3 separate regions of the Homo sapiens genome follow, and regions 2 and 3 are each linked to region 1. Evidence: promoter capture Hi-C in human tissues and cell types (Jung and others, 2019). All regions are on one chromosome and are shown on one strand. Each heading gives the region's core, a stretch centred on a gene start or on the middle of the fragment in contact. The rest is flanking DNA. Distances are from core to core; before and after follow the strand shown. Region 1 holds the start of SLC24A2 (solute carrier family 24 member 2). Region 2 overlaps SLC24A2 (solute carrier family 24 member 2). Region 3 overlaps SLC24A2 (solute carrier family 24 member 2).

Evidence for each region. Contacts are between HindIII fragments. The study calls those that stand out against the background at their distance.
Region 2: a fragment that was not itself captured here is called in contact with the fragment with the promoter of SLC24A2 in region 1 in 2 of the 25 tissues and cell types used here (dorsolateral prefrontal cortex and hippocampus).
Region 3: a contact is called between a fragment that was not itself captured here and the fragment with the promoter of SLC24A2 in region 1, in 4 of the 25 tissues and cell types used here (adrenal gland, dorsolateral prefrontal cortex, lymphoblastoid cells and 1 more).

What each region holds. Positions count from the first base shown.
Region 1 is chr9:19,787,761-19,790,460 of GRCh38, reverse strand. It overlaps SLC24A2 (solute carrier family 24 member 2), which reads left to right and starts at 1,424. Exons shown (of 11, transcript NM_020344.4): 1 at 1,424-1,576. It overlaps LOC124902128 (a long non-coding RNA gene), which reads right to left and starts at 1,302. Exons shown (of 2, transcript XR_007061432.1): 1 at 1,183-1,302. RefSeq lists an enhancer at 1,861-2,508. The HindIII fragment of the contact is 14,556 bases long and covers 1-2,700 here.
Region 2 is chr9:19,590,821-19,593,520 of GRCh38, reverse strand. The region is part of intron 5 of SLC24A2 (solute carrier family 24 member 2); the gene reads left to right. Among named protein-coding and RNA genes, the nearest start is that of MAP1LC3BP1, 130 kb to the right of the region's middle. The HindIII fragment of the contact is 5,373 bases long and covers 1-2,700 here.
Region 3 is chr9:19,570,655-19,573,354 of GRCh38, reverse strand. It overlaps SLC24A2 (solute carrier family 24 member 2), which reads left to right. Exons shown (of 11, transcript NM_020344.4): 7 at 1-4. Among named protein-coding and RNA genes, the nearest start is that of MAP1LC3BP1, 110 kb to the right of the region's middle. The HindIII fragment of the contact is 6,097 bases long and covers 1-2,700 here.

The DNA of each region.
Region 1 (2,700 bases), core at 175-2,674:
GTGGTAGTTGATAGTTTTCTTGCTTTCTGAAAATATTTACAGATAAAATGATATGATGCTCTGGGATTTGCTTCAAAATGATGACATAGGAAAAAGGGGTATAGATGAAATATGACTGTCCATGAGTTCATAATTGTTCAAGCTGGTTATGGCCCCATGGAGATTCATTATACTACTTTCTTACATTTGTATATGTTTGAAATTTTCTAAATTAAAAGTTAAAGATAAAAAAATTCAGTCAGGCACCTATAGTCTGCAAGCACTTGGGAGTCTGAGGCTGGAGGATGGCTAGAGCCCAGGAATTCAAGACAAGCTTGGGCAACATAGCAAGATTCAGTCTCGAAAGGAGAAAGAAAAAGAAAAGTTGAGTCTTGAATGCCTGGCTTTGATTGGGGGGTGGGGGGAAGAAAAATATTTCTAAGTTCCCTAGGCTTCCCTTTACTTATTGATGAGTAGGCCCAGAGGTCTGACTACAGAGCTGTACTCTAAGTCAGAGGTCATGAGCTCTCAGGATATACCCATTACCCCCATTGTAAGGAGGGCATGAAGAAACCCTCTTGGATGGGGGAGAGAACAGAAGGATGGAGGGTAAGGAGAGGGGAAAATGTGCGAAAAGCTTTCAGAGCTTCACGAGTTGGGTACCTCTTGGCAGCTTTGCTGGTGGTCACAGGGTTGGGTAAAAGGGGTTCCCTCACTACCAATTTGTCTTACCACCGTCTTCCATTCTTTGGCCCAGATTCTAGTCTCTCATCCCCAACAAGCCTGATTCTATTTCTTGTGGTCAAGGGGATCTTGCTTTCCAGATAGGACAGGAAGGAGCACTGGGCTGGACATCCCGAGGCCAAAAGCCGAAGCCTGTCAGTGATTCAAAATGACACGGGGTTTTGGGTCTCACTTTCATCACCCATGAAATGAAAGGTCACCCTGCAAGACTGAAGCCCCTGCAGTGTCCCAAGCATCCAAATCCAACACTCAAGAAACCCTGGACCCCAACAGCCTGTCCTGCAGGCCTCCGTGCCTTTTCATTGAACGTCTTTTCCACCATTACACATCACATCGCCTCCTAAAGAAAAGCGCGACTGCTATCACTTTTTGCAGATAATTGGAGAGGCGGTGCCCAGCATAAGATGACCCCAAAGTTGACAGCACTTTCAGGCTTTGTGAATTAGGCGCGTCACCGACCTGTACGATTTCTCCTCTCTGCCCTTGCTCGCCTGCAAATCCTGACCCCCGTCCACACTGCGGAGAAATCTCCTAAGAGACGGCTGCCAGCGTCGCCTCTGCGCCCAGGAGGCGTGGAGCAAAGGACTCGGGAGCTGAGCGCGCTGCGGCCCCGCTCCCAGCGCACAGCGCACAGCCCAGAGGGAGGGGCCGGCGGGGGCCGGGCAGCGCCAGACTCGGAGCGCCGGGCTCACAGCGGCTCAGTCTCCTCCCGAACCCAGCCCGGCTGGCGAGAGCGGCAGCCAGTGCGAGCCAGAGCCCGGGCCTCAGAGCGGGTAGGCGGAGGGCCGGCGGACTGGAGCGGCGGGCCGCGCTCGGGGGCCCCGCCGTGTGCGCGTCCTCCCATCTTATCCTGGTAAGTGCGGGCGGCTGCGCCCCGCCTGCCGCTGTAGCCGCTGTGGCGGTCGTCCCCGCATCCCGGTTGCGCGCATCCCGTTGCTGCTCTGCAGGCTCACAGGTGGCTCTGCCGTGGATGTGGGCGCCCCAGGCCCCGCTAGGAGTTAGCCAACTCTCTGTGCTCCGGGGCGTGGATTTGGAGCCCCCGCCTCTCCTACCCTTGCTTTTGGCTTGGGATGGGGGGCGTGGGGCAGGGCCTGCCGTCGGGGGAGACGCGCAGAGGGGCGCTTCCATTCCCCAGCCACCTACAAACGACTCAGGGGGATGCGGGCCAAGCGCCTCACCAAATGCAACCCAGCTCCAAGCTCACAGGTGGGGCGTCTGTCCTTTAGATTTATTTTCCTATTAATCCACCAGGGAAAGTTTGGGACCACGCAAGGCAAAGTTGGGGCGCGGCTGGGGGCGAACATTCTCCTACGGAGGCAGCTCCCGGGGAGACGAGCGGTGGGTTTTCAGGGGGAGCGAGGATCGGGCTGGAGATGACTTTGCGCCCGGGGAGTTGAATCTGTCCCTGCTGGTCGCCCGGGCCGGGCATTTACACAATCCCCTGAGTGCTGTGAATCGCTTAATCGTTCCTGCTAAGCGTTGACGTTCGCAGCCACCTGGGAATCTCCGTGATGGGGTCGGGTTATCTCAGGAGTAGCAGCAACTCAGCGGGGTTGATTTGTGCTCTTGCTTTGCTCTGAAAACCTGAGCTCCAGCTAATCTCAGTATTTAAGTGGCGTGTGTTTAATTAGCTTATTTTACACCTGAGATTATCTCAGCGACTGCCTCCAAAATGAAATCGTTGATATGGAAAAGAATAGTCTTTTTAAAGAAAAACTAAAAAGAGAACTCTTCAGAATATCAGCTGTCAAGTCTGGCTATTTTACCCATCTCCTCCGTGGGATAGAGAAAGAAAACTCTGCTTTGGATATCTAACCTATTAAAGTCAGTGGTGGGGCTATTTTGGGCAGATTTTGTGGACAGAGGTATTGCTACAACTTGCGTATTGTTTATGAAATACACATGTGGTCTCTCGAAATAGCCTACTTGTTATTTCACTGCATTGGGAGTTCTTTGACTTACTAAGCTGCCTATTTT
Region 2 (2,700 bases), core at 5-2,504, 200 kb after region 1:
AAGACAAAATCATGACGTTTGAAAAGTTTCTCCTTGCCCTCCGAGCCCTTTCCCCCTCCCCTGTCTCCCTCAGCCCTAAGATGCTCTAGAACCTCACTGGAGCAGCTCCCGAGGCCACACCCAACCTCCTCTCCCCACCCCAAGCCAATCCAAATTTTATCTACTTTTTTATTCATTCTTTCATGAATTTGTTCATCAATAGCCAGTATGTACCAGGTGCTGGATTGGGGGCAGAGCGGAGGAGATTAAACACAGTTCTCCTAAAGAACTCATGACCTTGTGGGAGACACAGGCATGAGATGAGTAGACCCTAGGTGCTGGAACAGCCCAGTGGAAGGCATCTTTCTTATCTTGGGAAGTGAGGGCAGGCAGAATTCATAAAGCTCACAGCACTGTGCCTGGCAGGCGATGTCTCCACTGCCATGTTCATGTGTCCCAAGATGACAACCTGTCTTACCTGCCACCTGTACTAGCACATTCACTTAATAATAACTGAGCACCTTCTCTGAATGAGACATTTTGCTAGACATGATAAATTAGTGAGCTTTACTCCTCCCAGGGACTTTGCCCCTGTAATAAGATGTTTCTAGGGACAAAAATGTCTTTTGGTAACTTCAGCTACCCCTACACAGGCAGCAGTCACCTTATCTTCTCATACAGTGATACTGCATATTTTTGGAAGAGCAATCTCCAACTTTTAAAGTTAATAATGCATAGCTTATTTCTCATCTGCAGATACCCAAATTTCATACCATTCTTACTCTAGAAAATTCTCAATAAATTGAACGTGGCTCTTTTCCTAAAATTATTCTGAATAATAATATAGAATGCTAGTTCAAAAGTAGGCAAGTTTGTGTGATGGGACAGATGGATTAAAAGGAGAAAAGACCTTTCCACCAATGGCAGTATATAGAATTAGTAATTTTTGCTCTTCAAAGGTAAATGTTTCACAGAGACATGTAGGTAGATAGGTAGATAGGTAGGTAGGTAGGTAGGTAGGTAGGTAGGTAGGTAGGTAGGTAGGTGGGTAGGTAGGTAGGTAGGTCGGTAGATATCCCAACTAATATCTTGCAATGAAGCAATATGTGGGGAAAGCTGTCTCCATTGTATTGTCCTAAACTCTCTGCCATTTAACCAAAGACATTTCCAGAAAAATAATTTCACCACTATTTAAAAAGTCAATCCTTGTTCATTTGTATAAGGGAGAAAATGGTAGAAAAGTTGTGATATCAAGGGCAAAAAAATTATAAAGACCTTTTCCATAATTAAATTAAGCTTACTGTTTCATGGCAACCAACTGCCCCTTTACCAAGCTGAAAAACTAATAATGTCTTACATGAATCATGGGGTCCTAAATTAGGCATGTGGCTGTTTTGAAAACCCCCATTATTTCAAAGAAACAAAAGTATCTTAAGGTCACATTGTCTAGCCAATCATTTGATGTTCTTAGTTGCAGTGAAATAGTCTAATTATTTTCAAAGAGAAATTAAGTTTTGGAATACCATTCAGCAATGTTTTTCATTGCCCAGGATATATCAACTAAATAATGTTACTTTAAAATAAGTCCTTCTTGTTATCTGTGACCTTCATAGGACATTGTAATCCTTGCATGAAAGGATGAGATTGTGTCATACACACTGATACATCAGGCAAAATAGCTTTAGCTATATATAGCAGAAAATCCAAATTAACAGTGACTTAAATAAGATGGAAGTTTATTTTTCTCTCAAGTGTAAGAATTCGAGTAGCAGACAAGACATGGCAGCTCTAGCAGCTCCACAATAATTCAAGACCCAGGCTCCTTCCATCCTTCTGCTCCACCACCCTCGTATATGATTTGTAACCTCAAGGGCACCTCATGGTCCAAGATGGTGGCTGTTGAGCTCTGGCCATCACGTCTGTATTCTTGGAAGGAGGAAGGGTCAAAGTGATTTTCTCTAGATATTTTGTCTTCTTTTTAAGGAGCTTTCCCTGAAGACCCTCTCAGTAAAATTTGCTCAAAACTCAGTCACATGACTACCTAGTTTCAAGGCAATTTGGAAATGTAGTTTGTTAAACTGCATGAATTGCTGTCCCCAATAATTTAGGCATTATGTCATTAGGAAATGAAAATGGAATAGATATTGGATAGGCAACTTGCAGTCTCTTCTCAACAGGGACATCTCACTTTCATATAACTGTGTGTTGGTGGAGAAGACTGAGAATAGAGCAAGCTATAAGAGGGAGCTTGAGCACTCATGTTAAATTTAAGATGCCTATGAGACATCCAAATGGAGATGTTGAGAAAGTGGTGGGTGTAGGAGTATGGAGCATGGGATAGAGGTCAGGCAGAGCTGTAGATGTAAATTTGGGGGTCATAAAATATGCGTGTTATTTAAAAGCTACAGAACTGGACTATAATACCTAGCTAATTGATAGAGAAGAGAAGGCCAAGAATTGAGCCCTGGGGACTCCAAAGTCTAGAGTCCGGGAAAAAAGGGGAGGCCCAGCAAAGGAGACTGAGGTGGGAAGAAAACTAGGATAGAATGGTGTCTCTGGAGCCGAGTGAAGAACACGTTAAAGGAGGGCAGTGAAAAGGTGACCGCATCAATGAATTGACCAGTAAGATCAAAGAACATCTACTACTTTCTTGTAGTAGAAAGAGAAAAGTGAGTGGTGGACAGAAAGTGGGATGCTTCAAATTGGGGGTTTTTTGACTTG
Region 3 (2,700 bases), core at 33-2,532, 220 kb after region 1:
CCAGGTATGGCTTTTCTCCATTGCTCTTCTGGGCTGTTGTTCTTAACTGATATCCTAGCGTGGCAGCACAGACCCTATATTCTCCTTGGAAGCCCCAGCTCTCAGCTGGGCAGGAATCAGGTAGGGCCTTATACATCCTTGTGTGTATTTCCCAGTGCCACCCCAGGGTCCCACATGCAGCAGCCTCTACATTTATTGAATGAATATGAATATTCTCTAAGCCACTGTTTCTCCAGGTGAGGTTGAAGGACTCATGCATCAGTATCTCCTGGGGATGAAAATGTAGATCCCTGGGCCATATACCAGGTGTGGTGAAACAGGATCACTGGGAAGCAGCACGTCGGAATTAGCATTTTTAATTAGCATCCAAGGTGATTTTTAATGTATGATAAAGCTTGATACCTGCTGCAGTTTAATCCTTTCTCTGTGTCTTTAAGGTCTGTGTTAAGTAATAGAGAAACCACAGCCATCAGACTCAGTGAGCCCCCTTTGGCTTTCTCTGTCCCTGTGGTTGAAATTAACACTCTCTGGCCCAACCCATTATTCAATGGCACAACCACTTGAACTTTTCAGTCTAGTAGTTGTAAAACCTAACATTTATCAAACACCTACTATTTGCCACAGCTTCGGTACTAGGCATTTTACATAGGTATTAGTCCATTTTCACACTGCTATAGAGAACTTATGAAGAAAAGAGGTTTAATTGACTTATAGTTCCACAGGCTCAACAGGAAGCATGACTGAGAGGCCTCAGGAAACTTATAATCATGGCAGAAGGTGAAGGGGAAGCAAGCATGTCTTACCATGGCAGAGCAGGAAAGAAAAAGAGGGAATGGAGATGTGCCATACACTTTCAAGCAGCCAGATCTCATGAGAACCCACTCAGTATCACGAGAATAGCAAAGGGGAAATCTGCCCCCCAGATTCAATCACCTCCCACCAGGCTCCTCCCCGCAACATATGGGGATTACAATTTGAGATGAGATTTGGGTGGGGACACAGAGCCAAACCATATCAACATATGTTATCACCTTTAACCTCACAGCTGAAGGTGTAGGCATTAGTAGCTCCATTTTTTTTTTTTTTTTTTTTTTTGAGACGGACTCTCACTCTGTCACCCAGCCTGGAGTGCAGTGACTCAATCTCAGCTCACTGCAACCTCCACCTCCTGGGTTCAAGCAATTCTCCTGCCTCAGCCTCCTGAGTAGCTCGCACCACCACACCCGGCTAATTTTTTTTTTTTGCATTTTTAGTAGAGATGGGGTTTCAGTTGATCAGGCTGGTCTCGAACTTCTGACCTCAGGTGATCCACTCGCCTTGGCCTCCCAAAGTGCTGGGATTATAGGCGTGAGCCACTGCGCCCGGATAGTAGCTCCATTTTATAGTTGAGGAAACTGAAGCTCAGTGAGATGAAGTAGTTAATTGGGGTTACCTAGTTTGTAGATGGTAGAGCTGAGATTTCATCTCAGGACCGTCCAACTGTACAATTTCCACCACTCTCTCTAGAACACAGTTGCTCAAAATGTAGGCAGAACCACCTTTGGTGCTTGTTAGATTTCTGGATCTCATCCTGATCAGGCGAATCAGAATTTCTAAGACCTGGAGCCCCAAACTTGCATGTTAATTAGGCATTTTAAAACTTGCATTTTACCTAGCTCAGTGTTTCTCAAACTTTAATGTACTTACAAATTCTCTGGGGAGGTCATCTTAAAATTCACATTCTGAATTTGTCAGGTCTGCCATGAGGCCTAGAGTCTGCAGTTCTAATGAGCTCCCCAGTGATGCTGATGCTGTTGGTCCAAGGACCATACTTGGAGTAGCACTACCCTAAAGTTTGAAAGCACTCTCTAGACAGAACTTCCCCCAATGAGCTGAAAAGTGATACAGTGCCTGCAAATAGAAACCAGACTACAGTCAATATAACCTAGCAGCCACTTCTTAAGAAAAAAAAAATGCTAATTGTTGCCTGTTACCCTTATTCTCTGATAGAAATTACGTATTTCTTTCCTAAGGAAAGTTTCTTCATTTAACAGAAAGAATAAGGAGCCTGCCACTCCTTCTGCCCTTGTCTCCTCTGCCTTCTATGCTCCTTACCTTCCTGCCCAGAGCCCTGTGGTCCCTTTGCATTAGCTCAAGAGTGAGCTGGCAGAGCAGCTTATGTCCACATGGATAAGCAGCGTGTGGCAGCAGGAGGCAGGCCCCAAGGACATCTGGCTGCCCTTGGGGATGGCACAGTCATAGGTGTGCAGAGGGCAGCCTCATCCCCATGCCTCTCCATCTGGCTGACAGAGGGACATCTGTGCCCCTGCAAGGGAGGACCTTGCTGCAGGGGAGCAAAAGAGTCCCAGATGACCCCTCTCTGAGCAGAGCTGTGGCCCTAGGTCTCCACAAAGGGGAACAGGACAGATTTGTGCACCACCCTGCTAGGCTCAGAGTTCAAGAGCAATCAGGTCTTCACTTACAATCAGATGACCTGGACCTCAAGAGCAATCAGGTGACCTGGGCCTGCAGGTCACCATGGCCCACTGTAGGACAGCCTGGTAGTGAATTCTAGATCCACCAGGGTCAAGTTACCTAGCTTCCCTGAGCTTTAATTTAGTTGCCTCATCTGTGAAGTGCAGATAGCAACAGTACTTGCTTCATTGCAGCTATCATAAGGGTTAAATGAAATAATGTACATAAAGCCCTTATTACAGAGTT